Linked DNA regions of Homo sapiens: region 2 is linked to region 1. Evidence: promoter capture Hi-C in human tissues and cell types (Jung and others, 2019). All regions are on one chromosome and are shown on one strand. The core of a region is centred on a gene start or on the middle of the fragment in contact, and the rest is flanking DNA. Distances in the headings are between cores, read along the strand shown. Region 1 holds the start of NUP210 (nucleoporin 210). Region 2 holds the start of LOC105376956 (a long non-coding RNA gene).

Region 1 (5,401 bases), core at 1,127-3,626:
AAGAAAAAAGTACAGCTATAGAATCTCAGAGAAAGTAACACACAAATATATCCAAAGGGATTCACTTGAAGCCAGCTGTTTTTAATAACCAGTTTCCTCTTTCTTGCCCACATACTGAGAGGACAGACAGCTTCAACAAGAGAATGAGCATGTATCCCCGCCACAGTATTGACTAACAGCTGATTTTCCCACACAAGACTAGGCCTTAGACTGGGATACAGAAAACCTAATGCCCAAGTTCAGCCTCTGGCATCAGGCCAGAAATAGGAGCCTCCAGGTGCATAAAGCACTAAAACCAAAATGCAATGGGCTGACCTAGTACGTCTTGATTTCAGGAAGGAGACCTTCAAAAAAGAAATAGGGCAGGCCGGGTGCAGTGGCTCACGCCTGTAATCCCAGCACTTTGGGAGGCAGAGGCGGCGGGATCACTTGAGGTCAGGAGTTCGAGACCAGCCTGACCAACATAGTGAAACCCCATCTTTACTAAAAATACAAAAATTGGCCAGACAAGCCAGGCATGGTGGCTCACGCCTGTAATCTCAGCATTTTGGGAAGCTGAGGCAGGTGGATCGCTTGAGGAGTTCTCCTTGGTCTTGAGGAGTTCAAGACCAGCCTGGCCAACACAGTGAATCCAGAGTTTGAGACCAGCCTGGCCAACATAGTGAAACCCCGTCTCTACTAAAATGCAAAAAACTAGCTGGGTGTTGTGGCGGGCGCCTGTAATCCCAGCTACTCGGGAGGCTGAGGCAGGAGAATCGCTTGAACCGGGGAGGCGGAAGTTGCAGTGGACAGAGATCGCGCCATTGCACTCCAGCCTGGGCAACAAGGGCTGGAGTGCACTCTAAAAACAAACAAACAAACAAACAAAATTAGCCAGGTGGCCTGCACCTGTAATCCCAGCTACGAGGCGGGAGAATCGCTTGAACCCGGGAGGTGGAGGTTGCAGTGAGCCGAAATCGCACCACTGCACGTCAGCATGGACGACAAAGCAAAACTCCGTCTCAAAAAAAAAAAAAAAAAAAAAAAAAGAAAGAAAGAAATAGGGCAAATAGTGCAAGCAACAGAGAAAGCTGGCTGGTCTGAGCTTCGGGCATCACACTTACATACACGCACAGACTAATACTCAAACAGGCTTGACACACACATGTCCAGGCTTACACACATGGCTGTCACGTGGTCACACCCCGTTCTGCCTCAACCTTGACCCAGTCTTGAAACAGAAATAAAGGGAGCAACTACTGAGCATCCTGGGGGTGGGAAGGGCGGAAGCCCATCTTTTCACCCCTAGGACGGCTGGGCTGGGAAGCTAAGGGCGCTCAGTCGTGCCCACGCAGCCTTGCCAGGGGCAGGAGCTCCATTTCCCCTGGTCTGCAAAATGGAAGGGCTGGACTGCACCGCCCTGTCAGTGTCGGTCTCTGGTTTCATGGGTCCCTGTGGTTCCACAGGGTCACACTCCGCATCCGACCCCTTGGAGAACTCCCAACCCGAGAGGGAGGGTGATGGAAATGCCCTGAGCATCAGGACCCGCGCCGAGGCAGCCTGAGGGGAAGCGCCGGCCTGCCTCGTCTCACTTCGCCTCTGTAAAGCGGCCCCTGGGCTTCCCTCCAAAACTCCTTTCCTCCAGGGTCTCCGTTCCTCCCCGCGACGCTAGGCGCTGCGCTTCGTTTCACAGACTCACTTCCCACGCCAGGGCGAGGGCGGTCACAGACAAACCCGAGCTGGGGTCCCAGACTCAAGGGAAGTGCGGCCCAGCTGCCCCGGCGCCCCCTCCCGGGTCAGGCCGGCTCGGGCCCGGCCGGCTTGGGCCCTGCGGTCCCAGACGCCGCTCCCCAGGCCACCCCTCCTCCCGCACAACCCAGAACACGCGGGTCACGGCCGCCAGGCTGCGCCCGCTCTGCTCGCGCCTCAGCGGCGCGGAGGCCCGGACGGCGCCATGACATGAGCAGTGGTGGCGACCCACGCGCACCCGCCGCTCCGAGTGCTGCAGCCTAGCGCCCAGCGAGAGCGCGCCGCGCACCTGCCGGCTCTGCCGGCCTCCCGGCGCCCGCCCAGCCTCTCAGCGCGAAGGCCCAGCCCGGCCCACGGCGCCCGCCCGGCCCGGCCGCGCGCCTCACCAGCGGTAGCAGCCCTCCGAGGCCTCCAGCGTGAAGTTAACGCGCGTGGCCCGCGTGAAGGGCAGCAGCACTTTGGGGATGTTGAGCTTGGCCGCAGCGGCGGAGGGGCCCGCCGCCAACAGCACCGACAGCGTCAGCAGCAGCAGCCCCCGGCCCCGCGCCGCCATCCTCGCCGCGCGTCACCTCCCGCGACCCTGCGCCCGGCCGCCCGCGCCGCCCCGTTGCCCTCCGCTCCCGCCCGCGCGCGCGCCAGGCCAGCAGGTGATGAGCGCGGGGGCGGGGCGAGGGCCGTCGGCGGCCGCCGCTTCCTGGGCCTGAGCGCGGGAACTCTGGGGGCCGAGCTCGCGGCGACCCCACCCCCAGCCCGGCCCTCGCGCAGGGACGCGGGGCTGGGGGATGGGCGCGCGCCCGGGCCCCCGGAGCTGAGGGAGAAGGCTTGGGGCGCGCCCGCGGGGACCCCTGGACCCTAGAAGTCCCAAGGGGGAGCCCCCGGGGCGCCCCGCAGCACGCATCCCGCCCTGGTATTTGCCCCTGGCGGTGGAGCCAAGCCGCCGGCTTTGGACCTTGCGCTCTGGCCCGGACCCACGGTCAGCAAGGAAGGGACACATGCCCCAGGACATTTGGGATGCAGAAAACCGGCGCCTGCCTTGTCCCAGCCCATGCTTCCCAGAAGAGGGACCCCGGGCTCGCAAAGGGAAGCCACCTGCTGAAGCGCTGAAGGCCCGGGGCCCGCTCCCCCTCGACCCCCTCACACCCTTTCCAGAGAGGCCTTAAGATTCCCATTTCTCCAGGAAAAAACCGGTTGAATGGCCCCCAGATCACTCAGCCAGAGAGCCCCAAGCTCTTGTCCTCCGCACTGCACCCCCTGCGGAAGCCATTAGAGGTTACCTATAGGTCATTTAGGGCGCCAACGCTGCCAGAGCACAACCCCCTCCACGGCCCCCACACCCACAAAAGAAAGTTTAGCACCGCGGAATCCACCTGCACACCAATGGAAGGCCTTAGATTCCGCGCTGTGCTCTGTGGCTTTTAGCTGTCTGTCGTGAATTGCATGAAGGCATGCGTCAGCAGGCACCTGACTGCTTGGTGCCGCTAAAATATGAATCTAGCCTTGCAGAGAAGGCCCAGCCTAGCGGGAGGTCAGGAAAGGGTGGGGTGAGGGTGCACTGGCCGGCTGTCTGAGGAGTGCAGGAAGTGGATGCTGACTGTAACCAGGAAGACACACAACGATGCCACTGGGTGACCAGGAAGGAGAGGATAAATGTCAGTAAGGCTAGGAAGGCTTTTTGGAGGCGGCGGCCCCTGGGTTGGGCATAGACACCGCACTGGGCTTCAGCGAGGCCCGCATAGGCTGAGCCTGCCCCTCAGGGATCATGGGGCTTTTGGATGGTGATGCGGGGTGTTTGGGGTCACCCTCGAAGCCTGAGGGCCCTAGACCAGGGAATGTGTGTGTTGGGGGAAATCTCTGGAGATAACCAGAACTAAGGGGGTGAGGGTCGGCCCTGTGTGGAACCAGGTGCTCTGGGAGGGGAATTCCAACGGGCTCCCTTTGAAGAAACAAAAAACAGACTTGCGCGGAAAAGGCAGCCTCAGAGGGTATTTGTGAGGAAGTCTGTGGGTGTCTTCTGGGTTGCACAAGATTGATTTGTTTTCCAACAGGTAATCCAGACAGATGGTTGAAACTTAGGCTCAAAAGGGTTCCAAGTGAAAGTGATTCCTCTCCCTCCCCATCACCCAATACCCTTCCCTACAGGCAATGAGTGTTTCCCACTTGAGTATACATCCAGAGAAATTTTATGCATAAACAAGCATATATATATATAAAACATGGCACACATGCACACACATACACATACATGCACACACATATGTATATATGAAATATGGCACATATACATACATATACATATGTCTTGCGAGGCAGGTAAATCTCACTCTTGGACATATATCCTAGAGAAATGAAAAGTGATGTTCCCACAATCACCTGTACATAAAACATTCATAGCAGCTTTATCAAATAGGCCCAAACTGGAAACAGCACAGAGGTCCTTCATGGGTGATGATTAAATACTGTGGCACATCTATGCCATGGAATATTATTCAGCAAAAAAAGAAATGAACTGCTAATACATCCATCTTGGATGAAGCTCCAGGGAATTATACGGACTGGAAAACAAACACTACAAAAGCACAAAAGGTTACATACTGTAAACTTGCTTTTATACAAGATTATTGAGTTGGCAAAATTATAGAAGTATAGAGCAGGTGAGTGATTGTGGGGTCAGGGGCGGCGTGGCATAGGAAGTGATGTGGCTATAAAAGGTCAACATGAGGAGTCCCTGGGATGGAAGTGCTTGGTGGCTTGACTGTATCAATGTCCATTTCCTGGTTGTGATATTATCCCATAGTTTTGCAAGATGTCTACTAGTGGAAACGGGGTAAAGGGCACATATTATAGCATCTCTCTTGTTATTTGTTACAACTGCATGTAATCTACAATTATCTCAAAAAAAGAATCATACAAACAGGCCCAGCAAAACACATCTGAGTGGACACAGCTTGCTAAACAACTACGTTTCAGGTGATTTAAGGCAATCAGGAAATTTTCCCAGCAGAAAACAATCCATGGAAGACAACAAAATGGGCCGGGTGCGGTGGCTGTCACCTGTAATCCCAGCACTTTGGGAGGCCAAGGTGGGCAGATCACCTGAGGTCAGGAGTTTGAGACCAGCCTGGCCAACATGGCAAAACCCTATCTCTACTAAAAATACAAAAAGTCGCCAGACATGGTGGCATGCATCTGTAATCCCAGCTACTGGGGAGGCTGAGGCAGGAGAATCACTTGAACCTGGGAGGTGGAGGTTGCAGTGAGCTGGGATCAAGCCACTGCACTACAGCATGTGCAACAAGAAACTCCATCTCAAAAAAAAAAAGGCAACAAAATGATGGGTAAAACATTTTCCATCTGAGATTTTATCCCTTTACGTTGTCCTTAAACTTGCCCCCAGACCCCATTTCACTTGCCTACAAACCTGGTATGAGATGGTATTTGGGGCCAAGCCAGGGGTCCATGTGTAGGGGCCACCCCCACCTTCTCTGTGGGCTGTTTCCACTCCCTGGCATTGGGCCCCTTCTTTGGGTGTCAGTGTTTATCTGAGATGCAGGGAGCCAGCCATGGACAATGGCCTGAGCACAGCCTTCTGTCCTGGCACAGAGACCCTCTGGGCTGGAAGAGACCACAGATTTGAGTGAGCCGGTTACCCACCTGATAACTAAAACCAGATAGG
Region 2 (5,508 bases), core at 788-3,287, 540 kb before region 1:
CCATGGGCTGCAGTGAAGGAGGCTTTGAAGGGAGGATGGCCGCCTCCTCCCCTGCAAGGATATGAGCCCCAGGGAAGGCATTCCTGCTCTGGGGATTGCCTCCCTCCCAGACATCACAGCCAGCCCTTGCAGAAGCTTGGCCAAGCTGACCACTCTGTCAGTGATCTCTGCAAGGGAAGCTGAAAGAACATCCAGCCCCAATTGTGTTCCCTTTCTGCCTCAGGCTAGGCCATATCTAGGCCTATCAGGGAAGTTGGTCTCTTCATGAGCCCCCCTGCACAGACGTCTAAATGTCCAGAGTCCCAACAGAATAACAAAGGGTTAAAAACCATCTCCATATTGAAGCAGGCCGAGCTGAAGGCTGACTTCTAGGGTGCCCTAGAATGGTGGAAGCTGCACACACCTGACACCACCTAGCAGAGTTGGCTTCCAGAGGAACCTTTCGGTGGGTACCCACTGACCACAGGATGCAGGCCTTCAAGATGTGCCTTCAAGACCTCTGTTCCTGATGTGCCGTCAGGACCTGCGCCATGGGCACCTGCTGGCCTCCCCATTGCTGGAATCCATTTGTGCAGCCCCTGTGGTGATGTGCACACTGGGACTGGTGTTCCCAACTTGCCTGATCATAAAACCACTGGGGACCCGTTCCGTGGAACCAATACTCTCCACACCTCAGGGGCCTTTCTTGTCCGTGCATCTGTACCTCTGTTACCTCTGTCTGGGATGCTTTTCCACTCAAATTTTGTCCCAAGAAAACCCCTTCTGCAACAAGAAAAGCAAATCAAAAGCCAACGGCATTTATTATATCTTTCCCAGGGGCCATAGGCTTGCAGGCCTACCTGGCCAGGCAGATGATCCAAATCTGCCTGAGAGGCATGAGGTGAGGAGCTGGTGCTGGAGGGTATGGTGGCCCTGCCAGGGAGCATCTGTGGTTCCAGCGGCTGCAGCAAGCAGAATGGAGGCCTGGGGCTGCAAGACGTTTTGAAGAGACACAGGAATCAGCATTTTTGTACATGATCTTGGGTGTGTGTGTGTGTGTGTGTGTGTGTGTGTGTGTGTGTTAAACACTGGAGTCATAAAACTTCAGATTAAAAGAAAAACTGCAGAACATAAAACAAAACCCACCTGCAGCTCAGGGCTGGCCTGCAGGCCGCCTGTGACTGGTGCAATTTCCCACCTGTGCTGCCCGTGACCATGGTAAGTCTCCACTGCACACCCCACGGACACAGTCTCAGTCTGTGGCTGCAGCCCCGAGTGTCACAGAGGTCCCTCCCCATTGCCAGGGCTGTCTGACCCTGAGTCTGTGAGCTCCTGTGGGACAGGCGTCAGCTTCTTGACCTGGTTTTCCTTCATAACTGCTCTCTGAGGGTAGTGGCTGGCCAGAGATCCTTTGCCGAATGGATCCTGGAATCCAGCCCTGGTCCCTAGGCCTCTCCCCACTAGAGCTACTTGTCATTGGCAGGCTGGCCACCAGGCCATGCTCTTCTTCCCTTGACTTTCTGTCCCAGGCCTGGAAGGAAGCATCCAGAAGACTCCTCCTAGCACCACAGGACCCAGAGAGCAAGACAACAGAGCAGCAGGGTCACACCCTGGCTTGCAGGGCCAGCTTCTGGCAACTGCCACAGGCCTGCCACACTCAGCCGTAGGTTCCCAAACGCAGCCCAGAACAGCTGCAACTCCTTCTTGGGCCTCCTCTGACTGGTCTATGTGCTAACTAGCAACCTGCCTCTGTCCACAACCCAGGACCCCATGTAGACACAGCAGCTCAGAGGTCTCACTGTTCCTGGGAGCCCCTGCCTCCTCCAGACCTCAGCCCTGCCTGCCTCCAGAGGGGACAGTAGAATTACAACTTCCTCCAGGAAACATATTCACAAACATACTAGAAGGGCCAGGTGGAAGAGCAGTTCTGCTGGCTTTGGGCCTTGAGGTGTTGCGGGATTTTTAAGGAATCAGAGAGACCAATGGGGCTCAGGAGGATATTTATTAATTACTTAGGTGCACCGGCCCAGTCGGATTAACATCCAAAGGACTGAGCCCCAAACGAAGAGTTAACTTTTAAGCATTTTGTGGGTTGGGGGAGATTTGTGCAGGGGAAATACTACAGAAGTGAGAAACAAAGACAGTTATTCAATTGAAACATGCATTACATGATTTCTTACTTTTCTAGGAAAACGTGTTTTGCAACTTGAGTTTATCTGTCTAGTGACCTTGCAGCTGCACAGCTAGGGAAACAGGGTCTTCACAATGCCTGGGAAAGGAGGAGAGATAAGGCTCAACAGCCACAGAAAAACAGGCAGTTAATTTTAAAGGACTCCAGCTCTTTCTCTTTCTCAGAGGGAATTAGGTTTTCTTACATACAACTGAGTTTCTGCTTACACATTCTTTAATTTCTTTTAATTCCTGTTCCAGATGAAGAAAGAAGGGATTTCTTTTCCCACACAGAAACACCCCAAGCAGGAACAGAAACAGATCTTTTGTGCCCACCAATATGTGTCTGTCTTGCCCAGCCTGTCATTGTCCAGGGCTGTGGGTAGTGGAGGAGCCACTGGTTCTTGACTAGTTCTGCAGAAGCCCTGGGTCAAAGGCCTCCGCTGACAGCATCCAGAAGTGTGTGCTTCTCCATCCTGGCCACACTCTCAAATCACTGGGTAAGCCTTCAACACACCAGTGGTTCTCTCAGTCCAAGGAAATCCATGGTGCTGAAGATGGGGCCTAGGCATGAAGTTTTCTTAAAGCTCCAGCTCTCTAGTGAGTTTCCTGCCTTGGCACTCCCGGAGGCATTGCCTGGGCAACTCAGGGGCCTGCAGCCCTACCCAAGGCAGAGCTCCAGGGACTTGCGGGGTCAAAGGTGCCTGGGCAAGCTTCCCAGCATCCCAGTTTCCACACTGGCCACAGGGGTGAGAGCGACTGAGGTTGTGAAGAAAGGAAGGCCACTGACTTTCCAGGCCCTGCTCCACTGGGGAGGGGGGTGCCTGGGGGGCTTCTCTGCACTCTTTGTCTACAGCTTCCTTCAGCAGCAAAGCTGGCTGGAGTTGCCAGGGGATGCTTGCACAGCCTTACGGACCAAGAAATGAGTCCTAACTCACGTGTCCTCCCATACTGAGTAAAAATCTCTGGCCCCCACCATGATTCAGAGCCTGAAGTTCCAGAAACTCAGGAGGCTCAGCACCAGAACTCAGGAGCTCTCAGCCTGGGTGGACCCCTGGGTTTCTTTTCTTTTTTTTTTTTTTCTTTTGAGACAGAGTCTTGCTTTGTCACCCACCCAAGCTGGGCTGCAGTGGCGTGATCTCAGCTCACTGCAACCTCCGTCTCCCGGGTTCAAGTGATTCTCCTGCCTCAGCCTCCTAAGTAGGTGGGATTGCAGGTGTGTGCCACCACACCTGGGTAATATTTGTATTTTTAGTAGAGACAGGGTTTTGTCATGCTGGCCAGGCTGGTCTCGAACTCCTGACCTCAGGTGATCCACCCGCCTCAGCCTCCCAAAGTGCTGAGATTACAGGCGTGAGCCACCGCACCCGGCATGGAGCCCTGGGTTTCTATCCTTTTGCCCCCTATGCTGGGTGAGCCCCCAAGGCCAGTGCAGCCACTGGGAGGGCTGACAGCAAAAGGGCCACCAGTTTGGGGCTCAGAGACACATGGGAAGGGTGCAGATGCAGAGGCAGCTGGGGTTTTTGTGAGGCAAAGCCTCATTTTCAAGTTCATGGGCTTTAGGCACTCATTGATTTTTTACTTTTTTTCCCTCAGCAGTTTCCTATTTTTTATTAATTAAAAAAGTATCAAACATACATAAAATTTACCATTTTATGTGTCCATCTCAGCATCATTAAATATATTCATAATGTTGTGCAAACATCACCACTGTTTATTTCCAGAGCTTTTCCATCATCCCAAAGAGAAATCGTGTGCCCCTTAAAGAGTAATTCTCCATTCCCCCTGACACCACTCTGTTCTATTTTTGTCTCTATGAATTTTCCTATTCTAGGTACTTCCTAAGAGTGGAGTGATACAATATTTGTCCTGTGTTAGGCTTATTTCCCAAAGAATAACGTTTTCTTTTTTCTTTTGAGACAGATTCTCTCTTTGTTGCCCAGGCTGGAGTGTAGTGGCGTGATCACAGCTCACTGCAGCCTCTAACTCCTGGACTCACAGGATCCTCCCAAGTAGCTGGGACTATAGGCTCATGCCACCAAGCTCAGCTAATTTTTAACTTTGCATAGAGACAGGGCCTTGCTATGTTGCCCAAGCTGGTCTCGAACTCCTGGCTTCAAGTGATCCTCCTACTTCAGCCTCCTAAAGTGCTGCAGTTTTAGGCATCAGCCACTGCACCCAGCCTGGACATTTCATTGAAATGGAATCATAAAACATGCAGTCTTTTGCAACTGGCCTCCTTCACCTAGCACCTATGTTGCAGCATGTGTCACTAATTTATTCCTTCTTATAGCTGAATAATATCCTAATACATGGATAAATTACATTTTGTTTATTCACTTATCAGTGGATGGACATTTGAGTTGTTCCTGCTGTTTAGCTGATATAAATAGCAATGTTTTACATTCCCACCAGTACCTAGGAATATGTTTAATATGAAAGGCAAAGAATTCTATATAAATCAATTATAGCCTAGGTGTGCCTGTAGTCCCAGTTACTTAAGAGGCTATCGTGGTAAAATCGCTTGAGCCCAGAAGTTCGAGGCTGCAGTGAGTGATGACTGCACCACTGCGTATCAGCCTCAATGACAGAGCAAGACCCTGTCTCTAAAAAATAAACCAATCAATCTTACTGAAGGAACTGTAACAAGACCTAAAATAGTATCATGGGCGGAATGTTTATGTTCCTCCAAAATTCCTGTGCTGAAGCCCTAACCTTCGGGTGGCTGTGTTTGGAATAAGGAAGGCAGGAAGGTTAAATGATGTTACAAGGTGGGGCCCTGATCTGAGATAATTTGTGTCCTTCTAAGAAGAGGGCCTTATACGAAGAGGTGACACCAGGGCGGGTGCGGTGGTTCACGCCTGTAATCCCAACACTTTGGGAGGCCAAGGCGGGTGGATCACCTGAGGTCAAGAATTCGAGACCAGCCTGGCCAACATGGCGAAACCCCGTCTCTCCTACAAATACAAAAATAGCCGGGCGTGGTGGTGGGTGCCTGTAATCCCAGCTACTCGGGAGGCTGAGGTAGGAGAATTGTTAGAACCCTGGGGGCGGGGGTTGCAGTGAGCCAAGATGGCGCCACTGCACTCCCGCCTGGGCGACAGAGTGAGACTCCATCTCAAAAAAAAAAGAAGAAGTGACACCAGAGACACCTTGCTCATGTGTCCTCTCTCTGTGCACACAGCGGAAAGGGCATGGGAGAACACAGTGAGAAGACAGCAGTCTGAGAGCCCGGAAGAGCGCCCTCACCAGAAACCAAATGTGTCAGCACCTTGCTCAGGGACTTCCAGCCTCCGGAACTGTGAGGAAACAAAATGTCTGTTTTGGAGCCGCCCAGGCTGTGGGGTTTTGGTAAGGCAG

Evidence for each region. Contacts are between HindIII fragments. The study calls those that stand out against the background at their distance.
Region 2: a contact is called between a fragment that was not itself captured here and the fragment with the promoter of NUP210 in region 1, in 1 of the 25 tissues and cell types used here (spleen).

What each region holds. Positions count from the first base shown.
Region 1 is chr3:13,417,946-13,423,346 of GRCh38, forward strand. NUP210 (nucleoporin 210) reads right to left here and starts at 2,377. Exons shown (of 40, transcript NM_024923.4): 1 at 2,115-2,377. The coding sequence starts at 2,281. RefSeq lists silencers at 1,592-2,161, 2,212-2,611. The HindIII fragment of the contact is 28,440 bases long and covers 1-5,401 here.
Region 2 is chr3:12,876,746-12,882,253 of GRCh38, forward strand. It overlaps LINC02022 (long intergenic non-protein coding RNA 2022), which reads right to left. Exons shown (of 3, transcript NR_136189.1): 2 at 2,160-2,248; 3 at 777-969. It overlaps LOC105376956 (a long non-coding RNA gene), which reads left to right and starts at 1,554. Exons shown (of 5, transcript XR_940601.4): 1 at 1,554-1,642; 2 at 2,410-2,648; 3 at 5,333-5,508. RefSeq lists enhancers at 1-445, 5,181-5,310. The HindIII fragment of the contact is 6,664 bases long and covers 1-5,369 here.